Regions from separate parts of the Homo sapiens genome. Here all the other regions are linked to region 2. The links are contacts of gene promoters, found by promoter capture Hi-C in blood cells and fetal thymus (Javierre and others, 2016). All regions are on one chromosome and are shown on one strand. The core of a region is centred on a gene start or on the middle of the fragment in contact, and the rest is flanking DNA. Distances in the headings are between cores, read along the strand shown. Region 1 overlaps CELF1 (CUGBP Elav-like family member 1). Region 2 holds the start of NUP160 (nucleoporin 160). Region 3 overlaps CELF1 (CUGBP Elav-like family member 1). Region 4 holds the start of SLC39A13 (solute carrier family 39 member 13). Region 5 overlaps PTPRJ (protein tyrosine phosphatase receptor type J). Region 6 overlaps CELF1 (CUGBP Elav-like family member 1). Region 7 overlaps CELF1 (CUGBP Elav-like family member 1).

The links. The method cuts DNA at HindIII sites, captures the fragments that hold promoters and counts their contacts. A CHiCAGO score of 5 or more calls a contact.
Region 1: a fragment that was not itself captured here is called in contact with the fragment with the promoter of NUP160 in region 2 in 1 of 17 cell types (naive B cells); the score reaches 5.5 in naive B cells.
Region 3: a fragment that was not itself captured here is called in contact with the fragment with the promoter of NUP160 in region 2 in 2 of 17 cell types (erythroblasts and M2 macrophages); the score reaches 6.1 in erythroblasts.
Region 4: a contact is called between the fragment with the promoter of SLC39A13 here and the fragment with the promoter of NUP160 in region 2, in 1 of 17 cell types (activated CD4 T cells). The highest score is 5.2, in activated CD4 T cells.
Region 5: a fragment that was not itself captured here is called in contact with the fragment with the promoter of NUP160 in region 2 in 1 of 17 cell types (naive B cells); the score reaches 5.6 in naive B cells.
Region 6: a fragment that was not itself captured here is called in contact with the fragment with the promoter of NUP160 in region 2 in 3 of 17 cell types (naive B cells, erythroblasts and endothelial precursors); the score reaches 5.8 in naive B cells.
Region 7: a contact is called between a fragment that was not itself captured here and the fragment with the promoter of NUP160 in region 2, in 4 of 17 cell types (erythroblasts, naive B cells, total B cells and 1 more). The highest score is 7.2, in erythroblasts.

What each region holds. Positions count from the first base shown.
Region 1 is chr11:47,514,629-47,517,896 of GRCh38, reverse strand. All of the region lies in intron 1 of CELF1 (CUGBP Elav-like family member 1), which reads left to right. Among named protein-coding and RNA genes, the nearest start is that of CELF1, 37 kb to the left of the region's middle. The HindIII fragment of the contact is 4,290 bases long and covers 1-3,268 here.
Region 2 is chr11:47,846,514-47,849,615 of GRCh38, reverse strand. It overlaps NUP160 (nucleoporin 160), which reads left to right and starts at 1,266. Exons shown (of 36, transcript NM_015231.3): 1 at 1,266-1,397; 2 at 1,657-1,768. The coding sequence starts at 1,298. RefSeq lists an enhancer at 769-1,328. The HindIII fragment of the contact is 7,211 bases long and covers 1-3,102 here.
Region 3 is chr11:47,532,679-47,535,480 of GRCh38, reverse strand. The region is part of intron 1 of CELF1 (CUGBP Elav-like family member 1); the gene reads left to right. Among named protein-coding and RNA genes, the nearest start is that of CELF1, 19 kb to the left of the region's middle. The HindIII fragment of the contact is 2,174 bases long and covers 466-2,639 here.
Region 4 is chr11:47,407,054-47,410,004 of GRCh38, reverse strand. It overlaps SLC39A13 (solute carrier family 39 member 13), which reads right to left and starts at 1,415. Exons shown (of 10, transcript NM_001128225.3): 1 at 1,343-1,415. It overlaps SLC39A13-AS1 (SLC39A13 antisense RNA 1), which reads left to right and starts at 723. Exons shown (of 4, transcript NR_182308.1): 1 at 723-1,053. RefSeq lists enhancers at 1-155, 156-1,022, 1,311-2,133 and a silencer at 1,113-1,902. The HindIII fragment of the contact is 27,134 bases long and covers 1-2,698 here.
Region 5 is chr11:48,162,645-48,165,745 of GRCh38, reverse strand. It overlaps PTPRJ (protein tyrosine phosphatase receptor type J), which reads right to left. Exons shown (of 25, transcript NM_002843.4): 23 at 2,128-2,288; 24 at 1,231-1,366. Among named protein-coding and RNA genes, the nearest start is that of OR4B1, 53 kb to the left of the region's middle. The HindIII fragment of the contact is 196 bases long and covers 1,612-1,807 here.
Region 6 is chr11:47,474,542-47,477,607 of GRCh38, reverse strand. It overlaps CELF1 (CUGBP Elav-like family member 1), which reads left to right. Exons shown (of 15, transcript NM_001376376.1): 11 at 183-311; 12 at 649-762; 13 at 2,087-2,272. Among named protein-coding and RNA genes, the nearest start is that of RAPSN, 27 kb to the right of the region's middle. The HindIII fragment of the contact is 4,253 bases long and covers 1-3,066 here.
Region 7 is chr11:47,495,621-47,498,545 of GRCh38, reverse strand. The region is part of intron 3 of CELF1 (CUGBP Elav-like family member 1); the gene reads left to right. Among named protein-coding and RNA genes, the nearest start is that of RAPSN, 48 kb to the right of the region's middle. The HindIII fragment of the contact is 958 bases long and covers 1,186-2,143 here.

The sequences.
Region 1 (3,268 bases), core at 143-2,642, 330 kb after region 2:
CGATCACCTAAGGTCAGGAGTTCGAGACCAGCTTGGCCAACATGGTGAAACCCCATCTCTACTAAAAATACAAAAAAGTAGCTGGGTTTGGTGGCAGGTGCCTGTAATCCCAGCTGCTCGGGAGGCTGAGGCAGTAGAATTGCTTGAACCCGGGAGGCGGAGGTTGCAGTGAGCCAATATTGCGCCATTGTACTCTAGCCTGGGCAACAAGAGCATAACTTCGTCTCAAAAAAAAAAAAATTTCTGTAGAATAGGTAACGTGTTCACATGTAAACAATTCAACCACTGTTCCACCTCTACAACTACTGTTAGCAGTTATTTCTTTATCCATCCAGAGATACTCTGTTCATATACAAGCCATGTGTAATTCCTTTCTTATTATATGAATACGTCTTGATCAGTTAGCTGCCTTATTTTCTTTAATAGCTACATAGTGTTCTGTTGTATGGTTATACTGTATTTAATAGCCTTCAATTAATGGGCATATGTTTTCAGGTTTTGCTGATGTAAACAATGTTCTTATGAATGCCCCTTTGCATACTTTGTATACATCAGATACAAGATTATTTGTAAACTATATTTCTAGAACTGGGATTGCTGAATTCAAAGGGCATGTCTTTTTTTTTTTTTTTTTTTCTCTGTTTGTTTTTTTAGACAGGCTCTCTCTCAGTTGTCCAGGCTGGAGTGCAGTGGCATGATCACAGTTCACTGCAGCCCGACCTCCTGGGCTCAAGTGATTCTCCCGCCTCAGCTTCCCAAGTAACTGGGACTACAGGCACGTGCCACCACACCCAGCTAATTTTTGAATTTTTTTGTAGAGATAAGTCTCACTATATTGCCTGGGCTGGTCTGGAACTTGTGGGCTCAAGCAGTCCTCCCAAAGTGCTGAGATTATAAGTGTGAGCCACTGTGCTCAGCTCAGTTTTCAATATTGATGAGATACTATCCCTTTTTATATTTTGCAAGTGATATTATCCATTGAAAAATACTAGTGAGCTGGGCGTGGTGGCTCATGTCTGTAATCCCAGCACTTGGGGACACTGAGGCAAGTGGATCACCTGAGGTCAGGAGTTCAAAACCAGCCTGGCCAACATGATGAAACCTTGTCTCTACTAAAAAAATATAAAAATTAGCCAGGCTTGGTGGCTTGGGCCTGTAGTCCCAGCTACTGGGGAGGCTGAGGCAGGAAAATTGCTTACAACTGGGAGGCAGAGATTGCAGTGAGCCAAGATCATGCCACTGCACTCCAGCCTAGGCGACAGAGCGAGACTCTGTCTCAAACAAAAAAAAAAAAAGAGAATATTATTAATGGAGATGGGGAGGCCTAATAATTGCAATGTCAGTCAAGCAATTACCCTAAAGAGTTGCTAGAATAAACATAGGATCTGCAATACCCGGAAGATTTAAGAAACCCTCTTGAGATGAGCTTAATTATCAGCTGTAGCAACCATTATTGCTATTATTGTTGGAGAAGAGGCAGGTTGCCTAGAGGAGGTGGAAGCAGCTGCTCGCCTTCCTTTTAAACTAAATTCGGGGGAATTTGGTGATACTAGCTAAATCTGCAAGTCATCTCTATTTTACTTTCAGTGTATTAGAGCATTACTTTCACTCACTTATTATGATCTTGACCAATTCAAAAAACATTTGTGGTCCATGGGCCATTCAGTCCTTTTCTCTCTCTCTTTTTATTTTTATTTTTTATTTTGAGACAGAGTCTTGCTCTGTCACCCAGGCTGGAGTGCAGTGACATGATTTCAGTTCACCTCCTGGGTTCAAGCAATTCTTCCTGCCGTAGCCTCCCAAGTAGCTGGGATTACAGGCGCCTGCCACCATGCCCAGCTAATTTTTGTATTTTTAGTAGAGATAGGGTTTCACCATGTTGAACCCGGGAGGCAGAGGTTGCAGGGAGCCAAGATTGCACCACTACCCTCTAGCCTGGGTGACAGAGCAAGACTCTATCTAAAAAAAAATAAATAAGTAAATAATAAAGAGAGGCAAAGTAATATTTTGAGTTTCCCAATAAAAGGCATTTTACAAGCTGCCTTATTTTACCAAATACAGCACTGTGACTCAAGAAAGTCCAAGTCCCAGTGGTTGGTTGTGGAACCCAGGTCTCTTAATCCCTTATCTTCCCTTTAGTTCCTTCATCTGAAAAATGGGAATGAAAATGCTGAAGAATCTCCTTTGAGCACTCAGAAAAATAATTATAGTCCTTTCCAAAGGTTATGTGTTATAATGACTCCGCAAGAGACATCAAGATTATAAGGTGATTTTAAAAGTCGCTCTGACAGGGCTTGAGAAAAAAATTAGTCACATTCTGCCTACATGGTACTAACATATGGTGCAGCCCTGATGAGCTGCACAAGTGGGCTGAAATCAAAATGCAGTTGGAAAGAGGAGCAGTAGTGACTCACTAGATAAGACAGATTTGGCCTCATGGCAGGGCAGTGAAACTAAGAAGGAACTGTGGTCTTAGAACATGCCAGATTTGAGCAAGTGATCATGAATATTATGGAAAGGTTGAATGACTGAGCCTTTGGGTTTGAATTAGGTACTTTGTCTGGTGTCACAGTCCTTGGAGCGAGCACCCTCCCTCGGTGGGTTCAGAGCTCCCACTCCCTCCACCTCCCTCACTTCTGTGTATTACTTCTGTGTATCATTCCCTGTGCCTTTGAAGGTAGAAGCCACCAGGCAAATACTTAACACTGGTGTGCCTGGAACATTGGGTTCAAACTGCAATGATAGGTAGAAGCGTTAGTAATTCTGCCCAGAGAAAGCTGTGCATTAGCTTAGCTACCATATGTAAATTGCTACTGCTGCATCCAGCAATTTGTTGTCCATTGTTGACAGTACTGCCATGGTAAAGAAACAGGAACTATAGAAAGAATTAGATTCCTCCTCCCACCTCCCAGCTCTCACCACAGTAGGAAGCTGTTTGGGGAGCAGAGAGGAAATACGGGGGATTTGAGAGTTACACCCAGTGTGTGGGCATTTGGGGAGGAAATAGGAAAAGAGATTTTTTAAATTATTTTATTTTTTGAAACAAGGTCTTGCTCTGTCAGCCAGACTGGAGTGCAGTGGCACGATCATGGCTCACTGCAGCCTCAAATTTCTGGACTCAAGCAATCTTCCTACCTCAGCATCCAAATTAGGGCTACAGGCGTGCACTGCCATGCCTGTCTGATTTTTTTTTTTTTTTTTTTTGTAGAGATAGGGTCTTGCTATGTTGCCGAGGCTGGTCTCAAACTCCTGGGTGCTAGAGATGTTC
Region 2 (3,102 bases), core at 17-2,516:
CCTCTGCCTCCCAGAGCGCTGGGATTACAGGCGTGAGCCACCGCGCCCGGCTAATTTTTCTATTTTTGGTAGAGACCGGGTTTCACCATGTTGGCCAGGCTGGTCTCGGACTCCTGACCTCAAGTGATCCTCACGCCTTGGCCTCCCAAAATGCTGGGAGCCACGCCCGACCCGGGTGTATAGTTTTCTCCAGTCATGTTCAGCTACAGATTTGAATGTAGTCGAAGTTGTAGTTTTTACCGATGAAGAGTTAGGCAATGAAGTAATTTAATGGTATTCAGGATAAGAAAGAAACACCAAAGAAGTGTGGGACAGTGAAGATTTTGTAGAACAATGGATTCCAGGTAGAATGAGGGGACTGCACTGCCAAAGTTGGTGTCCCAGAGGGAGTGAAGTGGAAAGATAGAAAATGATGGTCGGAACCAGATAAATGAAACGGAGAATGACAGGGAATGGTTGTGGTCACTGGTAATAGAAGTGCTTTAACTTCTATTGGCTATCACTAAGGAACAAAACCTTCCCCGCTGGAGATTAGCATTTTCCTCGATTTTGAACATCTACTCCCACAATATCTTCTAAACACCCACTATGGGCCCTTACTGCATTGACAGCCAAGTGCAAGATCACGGGTGGAAGGAATGGCAAATTCCTTTCACGTATCCAAGTGAGTAGCACTCAGGTAACCTCAGCAAGTGGCAGCACCAAGGTTTACCACATTACGTTTCATTATACAGGAATACACGAATACAGTCTCTTGGGGAGGGGAAAGACCAAAACCAAAGGCCTTTCCCTCACTACCCCTTCCTCACCCCGCCATCCCAAGTGTCGCCACTGAAGAGCGAAGGGAGGATCGCCAAAGATTTACAGACGGACACCCTAACCGAGGGAGAGGTGACCATAAACCCGGGATCCGGCAGAGGACGCCGAAAGGCCGGGACTCCCCGGACCTCGCCCCTCCTGGTCGACTGAGCCCCGCGTTTTAGAAACAGAAACAAACCCGGCCCCGCCCCCTGCCCTGCGGCCGCTGAGAAAAGAGCACCGCCCTCCGGAGGCGTTCCAGCCGGCCACTGGAAGGTTCCCGCAGATAGAGTCTGCCTCCCCTGCCCCCTTCTCTTCTGGATTCCTCGCTGCCCACCCTCATTCTCCCGGTGGAAGCCTCGCAACGAAGGGCCGGAGCCGCCTTTCTGCTCCCGGAATGCTTCACCTGTCCGCAGCTCCGCCCGCCCCACCCCCGGAAGTGACGGCGACCGCGCGGCCCTGCCTTTGTTCCGTTGGGCGTCGCGGCGACGGCGGGAAGATGGCGGCGGCGGGAGCCCTGGAACGGAGCTTCGTGGAGCTAAGCGGAGCTGAGCGCGAAAGGCCGAGGCACTTTCGGGAATTCACAGTCTGCAGCATTGGTACGGAAATGGCCAGGGAGGGTGCGATCCCATCTGTCCCCTCGGGCTCCTCTCATGGGTCCCAGGGTCCCTGACGCCCTGTTTCATCCTCCTGAGTCCACATGCCTCTAGCCCCGGGATCAGAGATTCCTTGATGTCCGACGTTTTCCTCTTTTCTTTGTATGGGTTGTCAGTCTGTCACTCTCTGCTTTGTCAGCTCCCTTAGTCCCTGTCATTTCTCAGAAGACGCGTGTGCAGGCTGACCACGTTCATTTTGCAGGGACTGCAAATGCCGTGGCTGGCGCCGTAAAATACAGTGAAAGCGCGGGAGGCTTTTACTACGTGGAGAGTGGCAAGTTGTTCTCCGTAACCAGAAACAGGTTCATTCATTGGTAAGTGTTGTGGTTCGCCAAACTCCCCTGGAAGGTAGGGTTTGGTGTATAAATTTTCGTCGCTGTACCCAAAGTGCTATTCTAGAAGCGGTAATTGACACTTAGGGAAAGAGAAAGATTGTTTTTTCAGTTCGTATCAGAATCGGGAAAACTGAGACACAGAGTTCTAGAAGAGATACCTCTCCCCCTCCCCCCCCCCACCCCCACACACACATACACCAAGCAACACCAGAAGCAGAGGAAATGTAGCTTAGGGGAATAAAGCCCATAAGACCAATTTTAAACATGAACCCGTTATGTTTTTATAGTGCTTTACAGCTTCCTTCATTGTACAAATACGTTCGAGCTTCAATATGTCAGGCATTGTGCTAGGTACCAGGACGAAATGAACAAAACTGCAATTTTCATCATGCAAGACGTTGTAGCAATGTCAGAATAGATGTAGACCCACTTTTCATGGGGAAATTTTTTGGAGGAAAACTTGCCCTAGAGGAAAAATATACGGGTTATGAGAGGCTAATAAGAGGACCAAATATAATTAGTGGGGCAGGGAAAGGCTTTAAGGAATTCACAGTTACCCTGAGATCTAAAGGACACGAGGTTAGCCAGGCATGGGGAGTGGACAGAGAGGAGTCCAGCAAGTAGGATCACCATATGCAAAGGTCATGAAGTGGAAAGAATGTGGCGGGTTTGGAACTGACCAAAGATCTGTGTGGCTTAAGTGCAGTGGGTAAAACAGAAAGTGATGTGAGATACTGAGGCTGGAGAGGTAGGCAGGACTCGGACCATGAGGGACCCTTAGGCCATTTTTAAGGATTTTTGGATTTTATCCTAAGTACATTGAGTAATAATTGAAAGATTTTTAAAGAGTTACTAACATCAAAATTGCATTTTTGGATGGGAACAGTTAACACTAGGGATTCCAAAAGGAGGGAGGGAGGGGAGCAAAGGTTGGAAAACCTATCGGATACTGTGTTCACAACTTGGGCGGCAGGATCATCAGAAGCCCAAACCTCATGTATATAGGAATATACACACAATATACTCATGTAACAAACCTGCACATGTACCCCTGAATCTAAATTTTTTTAAATGTATTTTTAGAAGATCTCAGTCTACTTTGTGGAAAGTGGATTTGGATTAGATGGGTATAATACAAAAAAAATTTTGCTTTTATCATGGCCCAAGTAAGGGTTGCTGGTGGCTCAATTGTGGGAATGACTAGAAATAGAAAAGTAGATGGATTCAAGATACCTTTGGAAGATAGATTCACTAGGGCTTGGTGGTGGATTGAATATGGGGTAAGGGATGGTAAAAGAAGAGAGAACAAGGAC
Region 3 (2,802 bases), core at 303-2,802, 310 kb after region 2:
TCTCGAACTCCTGAACTCAACTGATCCGCCTGCCTCGGCCTCCCAAAGTGCTGGGATTACAGGTGTGAGCCATCTCGCCCAGCCCAAGACATAATATGTTTGTGGAGTATCTTAATAACTATTGCCTACGGTAGTTAATGGTATATCTTATCTCCATAGAACCATTTTTTTTTTCTTTTGGTTTGTGAATTTGTTGTATGAATTGGTTCTGAGTTTGGTTTTCAACACATTTAAATGGAATTTATATTTAGGTTTCAGTAGTTATTAGTGTGAGGGATACTCTTGAAATTTGTGCCAGGTACTTTTCTGGCTCAAACTATTATGGATCAGGCGTAGGGTAGCTGAAGTTCTAGATTATTACTGTGAAATCAAGTGCTGTTTTTGTTAATGTTCATTTGTCTGGTATAAGTTTGCTCTGGGGCTAAGCTAGATCTATGGAAAGACTTAACCCTTTTCCAGAAAGCTTCCAACTTAGGGAAAAAAATTTTTTTTTTTCTAATTCTGACTGTTCCACTTCTGAAAAAAACAGATCCACAGATCAGACTTGTAAATGATCTGTTTTCTTAAGATATCTTCTAACAGAATGGGTCTCCAGGGAACTGAGTGACAACACACATTTAGCTGGGAGTGGCAGTTCATCTCCCTAAACGTAATTTAACATCACATTTATCTACACACTACAGTTTTGGAGGCATACTTGGAGATTGAACTTATACTTCTCTTGGCTTATTTTATTTTATTTTATTTATTTTTGAGATGGAGTCTCGCTCTGTCGCCTAGGCTGGAGTGCAGTGGTGCGATCTCTGCATACTGCAAGCTCCACCTCCTGGGTTCACACCATTCTCCTGCCTCAGCCTCCCGAGTAGCTGGGACTACAGTTGCCCACCACCACGCCCGGCTAATTTTTTGTATGTTTTTAGTAGAGACAGGGTTTCACCATGTTAGCCAGGATGGTCTCGGTCTCCTTACCTTGTGATCTGTCTGCCTTGGCCTCCCAGAGTGCTGGGATTACAGGCATGAGCCATGGCGCCCGGCCAGCTTTATTTTTATAATTTTGTGTCTGATATATTTCTAACATAATTGTGTAGAGAAGCTGAGATTTCTTGAACTTTGGAAAACATTGAAATCTTGATAGAAAAAATACTAAATATGGCCAGGCGCCGTGGCTCATGCCTGTAATCCCAGCACTTTGGGAGGCCAAGGCGGGTGGATCACCTGAGGTCAGGAGTTCGAGACCAGCCTGGCCAATGTGGTGAAACCCCATCTCTACTAGAAATACAAAATATTAGCCGGGCATGGTGGCAGGCGCCTGTAATCTCAGCTACTTCGGAGGCTGAGGCAGGAGAGTAGTTTGAACTAAGGAGGCGGAGGTTGCAGTGAGCAGAGATTGTGTCACTGTACTTCAGCCTGGGCAACAAGAGTGAAACTCTATGTCCAAAAAAAAAAAAAAAAAAAAAAGGAAAGAAAAAATGCTAAATATAACTTATGTTGTGGTCTGGAAAGAAATAGCAGCATACATAGGTCATAGAAACTTCAGTTGAGTTTATATTGATGTAGCTGCTTTTATGAAGAGGGAGGGGAAAAACTAAGAGTTGAATATATTTAACTATTGTGCAACAGAGTGTCACTAAAATAGTTATAAATATTCCTTTTTTTTTTTTTTTTTTTTTTGGGGGAGAGTCTCGCTCTATTGCCCAGGCTGGAGTGCACTTGAGCAATCTCAGCTCACTGTAACCCCTGCCTCTTAGGTTCAAGTGATGCTTCTGCCTTAGCCTCCCAAGTAGCTGGGATTGCAAGTGCCCGCCACCATGCTCAGCTAATTTATGTATGTATGTATGTATGTATTTATTTATTTTTTGAAATGGAGTCTCGCTCTGTAGCCCAGGCTGGAGTGCGGTGGTGCGATCTCAGCTCACTGCCACTTCCGCCTTCCGGAGTTTAAGCAGTTCTCCTGCCTCAGCCTCCTGAGTAGCTGGGACTACAGGCATACACTGCCATGCCTGGCTAATTTTTTGTATTTTAGTAGAGAGGGGGTTTCACCATGTTGCCCAGGCTGGTCGTGAACTCCTGAGCTCAGGCAATCTGCCTGCCTTGGCCTCCCAAAGTGCTGGGATTATAGGCATGAGCCACTATACCCGGCCAATTTTTGTATTTTTAGTAGAAATGGGGTTTCACCATGTTGGCCAGGCTAGTCTTGAATTCCTGACCTCAAGTGATCCCCCCGCCTCAGCTTCCCAAATTGCTGGTATTACAGGCGTGAGTCACTGCGCTTGGTCTAATATTTCTTCAGAAATGTATACTGTATGGTACTATTTCTTGAAGGTAGCTTGCTGAAATAATAAGATCAGCTTTCTGAATTGCCAGATCCAGAACATCAAAAAAAAAAAATACTGTGATAGAAAAAAAAAAGCCTTCTGGATCCACCCCCAGGAATCCTAGTGGGTTCCCATGGTAACAACCTCTTTGCTTACAACTTGTCACTGTGTAACTGTCACTGGGGTTCAGAGAAAAGCCAGTATAGCAAGAACTGTGTGGCATTAACAACTCCTTAATAAAATGCTGTTGCACATTTGCAGTGAGCCAGAAATAGAAAAGAAAGTTTAAAGGTTTTAATTTCTGTGTTCCGTTAATTAGAAGCTTTAAAAAGCTGCCTAATTATGGTAAGGTGCTGCAGCAGTGGGAAGGTGGTGGGTGGCCCAGGCTGGCATAGGAGGGAGAAAAAGTAAGCTATAGGCTGAAAATGCTAGAAACTTCAGAGATTTTTTTCTTCTTTAATCCTATCATTTTGAAAATGAGGGACAT
Region 4 (2,951 bases), core at 166-2,665, 440 kb after region 2:
CGCAAGGGACCCTGGCATCCACCCTCCTGCTGTCCTTGCCAGAGCGTCTGAGCATCCAAATGCTGGGTGCACAGCAATGGGGCCCTGTGTCTCCACACCCTACTCCTGAGCACTGCGTATTTTTTCCTTCTGAGCAGCTCCAGACTGTGTCAGCACCTCCGCCTGAGGCTAAACTTTCCCTAATGACAGGGTGAGGCGCTGGCTGGCTCTCCTCAGCCACCGGCGGCACGGCCCGGCCCAGCTGGGTGTCTCTGGCTGCCAGGGGAGGCCCTGCCGCCCGCGACACCCCAGAGACTGAGGCACCCCTTCTAAGGGGATGGGGTGGATTCAGAGAGACATACGTGGGGAAACTGAGCAGATGAGCCAGGGCAAGACCATCCACGCTTCTTCCTAGGACATGAGACCAATGTCCCCAGGGCACTGAGGGCAACAGGAGATGGGGCTGATGAGGAAGGAGCCTTTAGCCAGGGGATGCCTCTCTCTTGTATAGCGCAGGCTTTAGAGCCCCCACGGTGAATTCTATGCTGCACTTTGAGCTGTCTAACTCTGGGCAAATCTCTGAAGCCCCCCCTCTGAGCCTCAGTGCCCTCATCTGCAGGACAGGGATCAATATCACCTGCCTCAGCTGTGAGGACGAGATAAGCCTGAAAGTGCAGGTGGATGTACCCGGCATGAGGAGGCGCAGAGGCCCTGCCTGTGCCAGGGAAGGCCTGGGGCTCCCTGCAGCAGGAATGTGCCCAGCCGGCCGATCACAGGATGTGGACGTGAGTCAACCAAGCGAGAAGTTCCATCTGGAAACTCGGGCATGAGGTTTAAATGTGGTCTGCTCTGCCTCAGGCTGGCTGTGACCTTGAGCTGGTGATGTCCCTGCCTCAGTTTCCTCACCTTCTGATGGAGATGGGAGGGGAAGAAAGCAGCTGCCTCTGGGTGGTGGCAGAGATGCCCATGTCTAGGACCTCCAGGCCTTAACTAATCAGGGGCACTGATGAAGCCAGCGGGGCTCCACTGGGGACCACAGGCAAGACTGGGCCAGGACGAGGCGGTCACGCAGAGGTGAGGGGACCACAGGCTAGCGGGAGGGAATACACGGAGAGTCCAAGGGGAGAGGAAAGTAGAGAGTGAGAGAGCTAGAGAGAGGCGGGTGGGACGCGGAGAGGACAGCGAGGGAGGGATGGGGCGTGGGGCGCGGAGCGATGGGGGAGAGGAGGCCGAAGCGGGCGAGCCTGACTCCCGGGTCCTGGGAGCCGGCCCAGGTCTGATGAGGACCAGTCGGACGGGGCGAGGGATCGGCCGGGTCCATCACGCCCGGGGCGCGGGCCCCGAGGGTCCTGCTGGCACTCACCGTGCGGCGGCGGCGGCGGCGATCCGGGCGGCCCCAGCCATCCAGCTGCGGTGCCGCGCCCCGCCCAGGCTCTGCCCCGCCCGGCCGCCCGGCCGCCCGGCCCCCGGCCCGGGGCCGCCCCCGGCGCGCGGCCACGTCACAAGGGGCCTGTCCGGAACCCGAGGCGCCGCGTGCCGCGGGGTCGGGGGGAGTGGCGGCGGGAGGGCGCTTCCGCCTCGCGGCGGTGGGGGACCCGGGTAGAGGGCGCACTTCCGTTTGGGCAGGGCTGCGGGCCGGAGGGGAGGGTCGGTCGGAAGTGAGAGAGCCACACGCACCGCGCTCAGCCAGGCTGGGCAGGGACGGAAGCGGCGGCTCTGCGGGGACCGCGATCGACCAGGCTGCGGGGCTTGCGGATCTGGCCGCCGCTTCCCGTCCAGGGCCGCAGTCTGCCCGTGGCCGCACGGGGGCGCGCCCGGCCGCCAGACCACGCCGCCCAGGTCGGGCTGGGAGGACTACTGTGCGCTCCTGCTCTGAGTCAGCCCGGCCTGGCTCCTCCATGAGCAAGGGAAAGGGGAAGTGCCTGCCGCAGGGAGGGGCCTGGCCCCGGGAACCTCAGAAGAGGGAATTTTATTCTTACTCATCGAATTATTTTTATGCTTTGGTTTTTCACTGGGAACCTCAGGCCACTGTCTCCAGGGCTTGTAACCCTTTGGGGTCCAATGCATGGTGGCTGGACCCTGCTGATGGGAACTCCAAACCTGGGAGGCGAGGGCTCTGTGCTTCCCTCACCTGGAGGAAGCTAGACCTGACCTCTTTGGTTAGACTAAGGCAGCAAACACTGGATAGCAGTTCTTATAACCGCAATTTACTGACCACCTACTATGTGCTATTCACTTTACTCGCACTATCTCACTGAATCCTCATATTATCCCATTGTGGTGGGTACTGTTAGCCCAGGGTCACACAGTGGCACAGATGGCAGAGCCAGGATTCAAACCTGGGTGTCCTGAAGCCAGAGTATGTGATACCACTTCTCACGTCTAGGTCCTGAACAGCAGTGGGAGTCTGGCTTGGCGTTTCGAGTTTGTATTCTTCTCTGGAAATCAGCCAGTACAGGAGAAGATTCAGGAAGGGGCATGTGGGTACTCACTTGGGCAGAGATAGCGACTGAGTACAGGTCTCTTAAGTCTCTGACCCTCATCAGCCTCCCATGGCAGCTCCAACCATTTACTCTGTCACTTTCCCCTCTGCTGGGGCTCTTGAGAGCACACTCAGCTCTCAGGGCTGCCTCTGGTGCCTGTCCCACTTCATGTTGCACTGTTGGCCTTCCTTAGACCGCCAACTTCTCCCTGGTGGCCCAGCTTGTCTTCTGAAGCTTTCTGTCCATCTCACCCCACCGGGCCCATACAACTGCCAGGACGTTCTGTTCCCTCCCTGAGTTCCAAAATGGAATCCCTGGGTTAGTTTCTTGGCAAAGAAAAGCTACTCAGGGATCCTGCCCTAGGACTTCTAAAATGCCCCCCTCCCTGTATGCAAAAGCGCTCCATCTTATGCAAAGCACTTCACAATATGCAAATGATTTCACAATAACACAGTCAGCATTCCTGCCTCTGGAGGCTGAGCGCTCCTG
Region 5 (3,101 bases), core at 460-2,959, 320 kb before region 2:
AAAGATTGAGAAATACTACTTTATATAATTATAGCAGAAAAAAGAAAATCTCTCTTTTGACCAACACAGGAGTTGAATTTCACTCTTTCCACAACAACCACCAAGCTCACCCCAGAGCACGCAATGTACCCAGGCATCTAGAACATTCCCTGCTAGACTCAAAAACACAGCACATATTCATAGAGTTCTAAATCGGTACAGGACGATAGCCTGATACAAAATTAATATTCTGCTCTCATCCTGGTCAAGGAACATTCACCCCTTTGAGGAAAGCAACTTTGCAATATGTTCTGTTGAAAACATGCCTCAAAAACACTTCTCAGTAACAGTTTGGGTAAAACCAAATCCAGCAGTAGTACAGAAACTATACCATAGATATTAAGTGTTCCTTTTCTCCGCTGGTCAGCCACCCTTCTGTAGCTATGATAATTGATAGTCTTTAAAATGTACAAGTCTGGGTGAGGATAAATTGCTGTATTAACATTTAAGCAGCATTATGATATGTCACATCATTAATGTTTGATGAGTTTGTTTCATTAGCTTATTTTAAAGATGGTCAGACCTTCTTAGAAACAAAGACTGGAAAATACCAGTTTTATGAGTTTAAAACCTGGAAGCCAAAGTTCAAAGATGTCCTAAGATTATTTAATGAGTCAGAGGCAGCAAGGTAAAGAATCCTGACACTATCTCAGTAGTAGTTCCATTACTGACATCAGTACTACTATGTCACTTGTATTGGGTAATTTAATTCCAAGTCAGCTTAAAGTCTGCAAAGAAATCCAGTGTTAGTTCACAGCCAAGAGCTGGAAAGATCTGGAAGGGTGACATATTTTAACACAAGTGCATGACACAATGCAACCTTTTAAAAATGGAGGGGAAGGGCCAGGCAAAGTGGCTCATGCCTGTAATCCCAGCACTTCGGGACACTGAGGCAGGCAGATCACTTGAGGTCAGGAGTTCGAGACCAGCCTGGCCAACATGGAGAAACACCGTCTCTACTAAAATTACAAAAATTAGCTGGGCATGGTGTGCGTGCCTGTAATCCCAGCTACTTGGGAGGCAGAGGCAGGAGAATCACTTGAACCCAGGAGGCAGAGGTTGCAGTGAGCCAAGATCATGCCACTGCACTCCAGCCTGGGCGACAGAGCAAGACTCCGTCTCAAAAAAAAAAAAAAAAAAAAAAAAAATGGAGGGGAAGGGTGGAATGTCAAATACAGATCTTGGCCTCACCTCTGTCTGCACCATTAAAGGCCTATGCATTCGAAGGTCATACACAATCCCATACACATCCACGGTGTTCTCATTCTCTATCTGGTAGATGAGACGATCAATGGCAATGAAAGTGCCCGTCCTTCCGACCCCAGCACTGAGAGAAAAGAGAAATAAGCCTATTACAGTGGGTTCCCTCGACTGCAACCCTCTTAGAGTTCCTCATTTGTACATATATCTTGCTTTCCTTCACTGTCACACTTTGAGGGCAATGCACAGGATCAGTACACATTTGCTCAGTTGAAGCCTCAGCAAGTCAGACAGCACTAGCTTGGGACTGGGGCCTAAGTCCCAAACTCACATTTGAGTCAGATGCCACACATATAACCCTTTGCTCAAGCTTCTTCAATCTCAGTTCCATTCAAGTTGCCCATAACCCAGGATGGCGGCACATTTTAGCCATTTTTTCCCCACTGGGCAACAGAGCCCCTCCTGTCTTCTGTCCTAAATTAATTCCTTTAGCTTCAAAGCTAACTTCTTATTGTTAGGGGTTGGCAAACTTTTTCAGTAAAGGGCCAGATAGTTAACATCTTAAGCTTTGCAAACCATATGGTCTCTTTCTGTCACTGTAGCAGAAAAGCAACCATAAACAATATATAAATAAATGGGCATGCTGTGTTCCTAGAAAATGTTATTTACAAAAACAGCAGCTGACCAGATTTGATCCATGGGTTACAGTTTGCCAACCCCTGTTTTGGAAGCTCAGGGCTTAGGGAGTAAGTCCATGGTTCCTTATCCAAACCTTTCCTGAATTCATAAATGCCTATTACATTCCCTCTTAGGCTTTGCTTTTGTAAAGTGCTCATAAATATATAATGACATTTGAAATCTGTCACACGTGACGTGCCATCTGCGTACCTGCAATGCACCAGAATCGGCGATTCGGGAGGACTCTGCTTCATGTAGTCACGAACGAGGTACCGGAAGTTGATGAGCAGGTCAGTGGTGTCGGGAACACCGTGGTCTGGCCAGGAGGTGAAATGGAACTGTCTCAGAGGGTGACTCTCACTTGTCTGGATCTAAAAGCCCAGAAAATGATTTAGATCCAGACAGAAAGGCTGCCTAACAACATCAAAAAGGCAGGGGAAATCAAGCAGAGCCTGAGTACTAACCAGGAGTTGTAATGACTAAAAATTAAACTTTACATTTGCACAGCAGCTGATAAAGTGCTTGCTCATCAAACCCTCACAATATGCTCAAGAAGGAGAGTTTATTATCCCCCTTTAAAGATGAGGCAGCAGAGATTCACAGAAGTGAAGTCATTTCCCCAACACTGATTTCAGATGCAACAGAAGTCCCTCATCCTCCAATTCTGCATTCAGATCCTTCCCTTCCTGCCACAGCTGCCTATCAATAATGAACTCACATTCTTACACCTGCACCTCCTTAGAGCTGCATGAGCCCCATCCCCGAGCCCCCCTGGGAATGTCACTGACAATAAAACCAAAAATAATTTACTCAAATACACCATGATAATCAGTGCCTTCTAGGCAAGAATGGCCTCATAATTCACTATGTCCCCTAGAGAAGTGAATAAAGTGACAGGCCACTAGCAAGCACCATGCAAATATTTAGAATTGGAGAGAGCTGAGAAAGGACTCCCCCAAAAAACCATCCATTTCAACATCTGAAAGACAATAGAGCTCATTATTACACAGACTGGTTCCCTACCTCATACCAAAGCATATACCTTGAAGCACCAGAAGCCCACCCCAGCTGGGGCGAGTCCTGTCCCTGACTCAGCTGTACTCGTTATGCCCATACCAGGGAATGACCATACCCATGTGACCTACATCCGTACCCATGTGACCTACATCTGCACTGCAGGCATT
Region 6 (3,066 bases), core at 12-2,511, 370 kb after region 2:
CAAGTTTCTTAATGAGTGATACATGAATCATTTTTGGAGCCCTGTAATGTTGTTTGTAAGGCTTATCTAGAACAGTTCCTCTTTGTCAGGGACCAGCCCTCTGCCAGTGTGTGCTTGTCATTGCTGGAATGGATATGAAGCACCCTTATCTGCTGGCTAATCTCTTGCTTTGGATGTTGTAGGGTTGAATGCAATGCAGTTACAGAATTTGGCTGCACTAGCTGCTGCAGCTAGTGCAGCTCAGAACACACCAAGTGGTACCAATGCTCTCACTACATCCAGCAGTCCCCTCAGCGTGCTCACTAGTTCAGGTAAGCATGAGGATGACCCAGTGTGCCATTATGTGCCTTGGACAGATGCTTTGTGTTTAAAGGCAGAGTCCAGAGAGGGAAAATAGTTAACACCTGTTTCCAGAGAGGTCAGATTATGAGCAACAAATTTTCAAATGTCATCTTTTGTACTTAAGAGAAATCTTCCTGATTTTCAATGTGCTGTGGCCATTATTTGTCTCTGTCCTGCAAGGACAGTTGTTAGAATTAGTAACTGAAAACCTCTTTACAAATAGCATACTTGGATAGTGACACTTTTTCTTGTATTTGGCGAGAATGCCAGTGATGGGTTGAATTTTAACTCCTTGCTTTCTAATAGCAGGGTCCTCACCTAGCTCTAGCAGCAGTAATTCTGTCAACCCCATAGCCTCACTTGGAGCCCTGCAGACATTAGCTGGAGCAACGGCTGGCCTCAATGTTGGCTCTTTGGCAGGTAAGGGGCAGCACCTGGCTGTCATCAGACTATTCTTTGTGCAGGTAGCACATCTTAACCCTGGTAGGGGCACCACTGGAATGATTGCAGTGGCCCAGTGAAGTTAAAAATAATCATGAGGGCCAGGTGTGGTGGCTCACACCTCTAATCCCAGCACTTTGGGAGGTCAAGGTGGGCGAATCACGAGGTCAGGAGATCGAGACCATTCTGGCTAACACGGTGAAACCCCGTCTCCCCTAAAAATACAAAAAAATTAGCTGGGCCTGGTGGCGGGCGCCTGTAGTCCTAGCTACTTGGGAGGCTGAGGCAGGAGAATGGCATGAACCGGGGAGGCAGAAGTTGCAGTGAGCCAAGATTGCGCCACTGCACTCCAGCCTGGGTGACAGAGCGAGAGTCCGTCTCAAAAAAGCATGGGATTTTTAAATCAGACCTGAGTTAAATCCCACCTGTGTCCGTTAGCTAGCTATAACTTCGGACCACCTTTCTAAGGACATTTTCTCATCTTTGAAGTGGGAATAATAGAATACTTTGAAGGATTGTTAAAAATTAAATGAGGCCAGGTACAGTGGCTCATACCTATAGTCCCAGCAGTTTGGGAGGCCAAAGCAGGGGATCACCCTAGGTCACAAGTTCCAGACCAGCCTGAGCAACATAGTGAGAACTCCATCTCTACAAAAATTATCTGGGTGTAGTGGTGCATGCCTGTAGTCCCAGCTACTTGGGAGGCTGAGGCCGGGAGGATTGCTTGAGCCTGGGAGCTTGAGGCTGCAGTGAGCTATGATTGTACCACTGAACTCCAACCTAGGTGACAGAGTGAGACTCTGTCTCCAAAAAAAAAAAAAAAAATTAGAACATAGGTAAAGTGCTGCTGAGCACATTGCATAGTACAGTAGATGACACATAGAATGTACTTAGTACCTGTTAGTTGCTGTTTTAATGGTAGGGTTCACCCACATCTTGTCAGAAATCACATGTACCCCTTTGAGTTTGCAGTCTTGGGCCTCTTCTTTTATGACATTCTAGCTCATTATGAGAAAGTGGCAGAATAGCCAGATAGAAAATGGAGGCTCTCATTCCACAGATTGGATGAAGGTAATGGGGAGCACAACACCCGCGTATGGCATTTCTTAATGTCCCCATTAGCAAGGCCTGGTGAATGTCCTGAAATCTAGCCAGTCAGATAGTTTCTTCTCAGGGAGAAACTAAGAGGGAGATAAAGGGGAGAACTTTGGAGTTTTCCCTCTTCTAGATGTCCCAAGTAGACTTGTCTTTGGCATCAGTTTAGTCTTTCTAGTATATTAATCCTTCTCTTCCTCCAACCAAGGAATGGCTGCTTTAAATGGTGGCCTGGGCAGCAGTGGCCTTTCCAATGGCACCGGGAGCACCATGGAGGCCCTCACTCAGGCCTACTCGGGTATCCAGCAATATGCTGCTGCTGCGCTCCCCACTCTGTACAACCAGAATCTTCTGACACAGCAGAGTATTGGTGCTGCTGGAAGCCAGAAGGAAGGTGAGTGCAAAGGGAGATCGGGGTCAGGTATGGGGGGCGGTTTTCCTCCTATACCAGAACGGAAAGGCAGAGCAAAGGCTGAGGGAACCAGTTAGGTCGTCAGACCATTGTTTTTCTTTGACAGTGTCAAGTGTAGACTGAGAAACCCTGTGAAGTGTGATCTGCTTTTTAAATGTTTTCTGGATGTGGCTCAAATCAGAACCTCTGTGTGCCCTCTTGGGATGGGGCTGCAGTTTTTAGATGAAGCAACAGACACTGACCTTATCGGGTCTGACACATTTGACAAGAATGTTTCTGTTAGGAGGTCTTCTCTACAGATTACAAATCTATCAGAGGATCTTCTGTCTGGATGTCTTCTGTTTCAGTGTCCCTTTTAGCTATATCATTTGGCATTTTCCTCACTTTCTGATTGATGTTTGTCCTGATTGAAGACAAACTGAGGGGTGATGGGACAGAGTTTGGCCCATGAGTTGATGGAGTGGGAAGTATGTCGTTTGACACAAATGGTATTCAATTTAGGAGAAAAATAGGAGAGACTCTTTAGCCAGAAAGAGGCCTGAAGGTGACTTACATGAATAGAAGGTCCTGCTGACACCTCTGTGCTCAGATTTGACTGGGTTTTTATAACCAGGAGCTGGTATAAGCACTAATGTAGGAAAAAGATGAGTGTCCTCTTGTCACAGCAGAAAGTCCTGGTTCATCTCTCCTCACCTGCTGTGAATCACTTATATCCCCTAGGGATGTGGTAGTAGGAGAATGTAGCGTGAACCAATATTTTAGTGGAGACTGTGGAG
Region 7 (2,925 bases), core at 415-2,914, 350 kb after region 2:
TTTGAGGTTAGGCCTCCATGTGCAAATCAGTCTACCCTGGGATTAGATGTAACAGGTGTGGATAATAGTAGATACCAAACAGTTCTTTGTGGAATAGTTGGGGGGCAGGGCTCAAAGTTAGCTCTTTCTCTCTCTGTTTTTGAAACAGGGTCTTGCTTTGTTGCCCAGGCTGGAGTGCAGTGGCACAGTCACAGTTCACTGTAGCCTCAACCTCCTGGGCTCAAGCAGTCCTCTCGCCTCCGCTTCCCAAGTAGCTGGGACCACAGGCATGCACCACCACCTGGCTAATTTTTAAACTTTTTGTAGATATGAGGTCTCCCTGTGTTGCCCAGGCTGGTCTTGAACTCCTGGGCTCAAGCTATCCTGCTGCCTCGGCACCTGGCCTGTCTTACTCTTTTGAAGTGGATCTTATGCCTCCTCTGTAGTCTCCAAAATTACGGTAATTTAAATGTCTTTTTATGAGAGTTCTTTACTACTAAAATTTTATTTTAGCTGTAACAGGTGAAATTAAAGTGAATATCATGATAAAGATTTAATACATAATAAGGATATTTCCATGTCCCAGGATTTATGATCCTTAGAAACAAGGCTGTTGCTCAAATTGTCTTTCATTGTAATACTTCCTGTGCTTTGCCACTGCCTGGTGTTCAACCCAACATTGACACAGCATTCTTCTCAGCCTGCTTTCTAATCTTTTAAGAGATTGGACCCATTCAATATCCCATTAAATCTGGACCATGGACCACTGCATGAAAGTCACCTGGAACTTAAAAATTCAGATGTTTTTATTCTAGAATAGGACCCCCAAGACTCTAGAAACAAGTGTCCAGCATGTTTTTTTGTGCACACTAAAGTTCGAGAGCTAGTGGACTTAACACAGGTCATTCTCAGAGTCAGTCGGGGAATGGATTGTCAACATTTTTTCCAAGTACGTTTGCATCTGTTTTAGTCACCCATCTTCACCAAAACTTTGCAAGGGTGCCTGGGCGTAGGCCATTGCCCCGATTTTAAACATGAGAAACCCAGTTGAGAGAGAGATTGAGGACAAATAGTAATCAGTGTTGGGCCTGAAGTACAAGTTTAAAGGTAAAGGTCTTTTTATTTTTGCCCACTAGACCAGGCTGCCTCTAGTGTCAGTGAACGGTTAGCCAATGTTCTTGATTCTTCATTGATCACTCTTAAGCTTCCACTGGTGCTACTTTGCCTGCATCCTAAGATATGGATATTTTCATGAGTTGTGTCCCAGACTTTTTTCTTTTCATTCTCCCATTGCTTAAGGGGACACTGATGTGCTTCTCTGCTTCTCAGATCTCTGTTCCCCCAAATGTCTTCTGAGGTCTAAGACTTTATTCTAAATACTGCTCATTGATTACTTTTCATCTAGAGACTTCCCCACAAAAAGTAATTCCCATATTGTCTTCACTAGAACCCAAGAGTTGTTAGTTTCTTTCTCTTCCTCTCCTCCTTGGAGTTCAAGTGAACTCCAGATCCTAGTGTATCCTGGCCCAAAATTCCTCAGTATTGGCTGAGACTGGGTGCTAATCTTAGGTACTAGTTTATGCAAGAGCCTTCTGATCTCCATGTTCCCTGCCTTATTTCATCCTCCAGATTATTTTTAGGTATCTTTTAAAAGGACAGATCTGATCATTCACTTAATCTAAAATCTTGGAATAAACTCCAAACCTGTCTATAACATGGAAAGCCCTTCACTGGGTCTCTCTGACCTACCTCTTTATTCTTAGTCAGCTTTCTAGTATGATCTCTTCTCTGTTTCTGTACTCTGCCCACAACTTTCTCAAGTCCTTTTTCTCCCTTCTGATGTTATCCCACTTTTCCCATCTCTCCTCAGTCCTTACCATTTCTTCATCACCCTTAGGCCTCTTTCCTCCATGCCACGTAGCACTTTTTCTAGTTGCCTACTCTATGCAGCTGAAATCTCTGCACACACACCTCCCCCTCCTCCAAATAAAGTAAAATCATATTAGCCACTTCTTTCATAGAACTTTTAAACATTCCTTTATAGGATTTGTAGAGGATTATAGTTGTGCCCTTCTACTTTTTCAGTGACATTGCCTCAAGGGCACATATTGCTCAGTCTTACAGAGCCCTATAGTGTGTAGTATCTGGCACCATAGCAAAAGCTTGGGAATTACAGTTGAATGAATGATATTAAAGATGATTGCAGAGATAAGATCTCCAGATCTTATCTCCATACCTCAGGGAAGAAGGCTGAAAACCTTTAAAAGCATATTGTTAGCTATTCTGTTGTTGGATGGTGACTTTAAATTATTATTGTCTTTATTGTCCTTAGAGATAGCTTTTTCTAGTACCTAACACCCCACATGATAGGAAGATTGACCTTTATCCAAATGAAAATTAACTTTCTCACAGCATAAATGTATTATTCTGTCTTGTTCTCACTAGGGAGCAGCTGGTAAGTAACTCAGGCCAGTGTTTCTGGGCCCTTTTTATTCTCACGCACTTCTGTTCCAGTTTTTCCACAGCACTGTATGTGAGCCAGAGGGACCTTGTATAAGGGTGGGTGGTAGCAGAAGTTTGGAATGCAACAAGTATTTTTGCCTGCTGGGGAGGTGGAGGGATTGGTAAGTATCTGAATTTTTTCTTTTTGTATAATTAAAGGGAAGTCAACAGGTAATGAGAAAGGGGGAGTGAAAAAATAATGAAAGGTTTCAGGAATTATTTTTAAACAGGTCCCGTTTGAAGGTCTTGTTTGGCTGCAAGGAACAGATGTCCACTCAAGCTAGCATATATGAAAGGGCTTTCTTATAAGGACACAGGTGGACTGAACTGTAATCTAATCAGGAGCTCTGCAGCTAGAAGACCTAGAAAGTGTATCTTTCTGACTCCAGGATATATAACTGCTCACTCTACATGTACCTCCTTTCTACTCTTAACTACCTTATA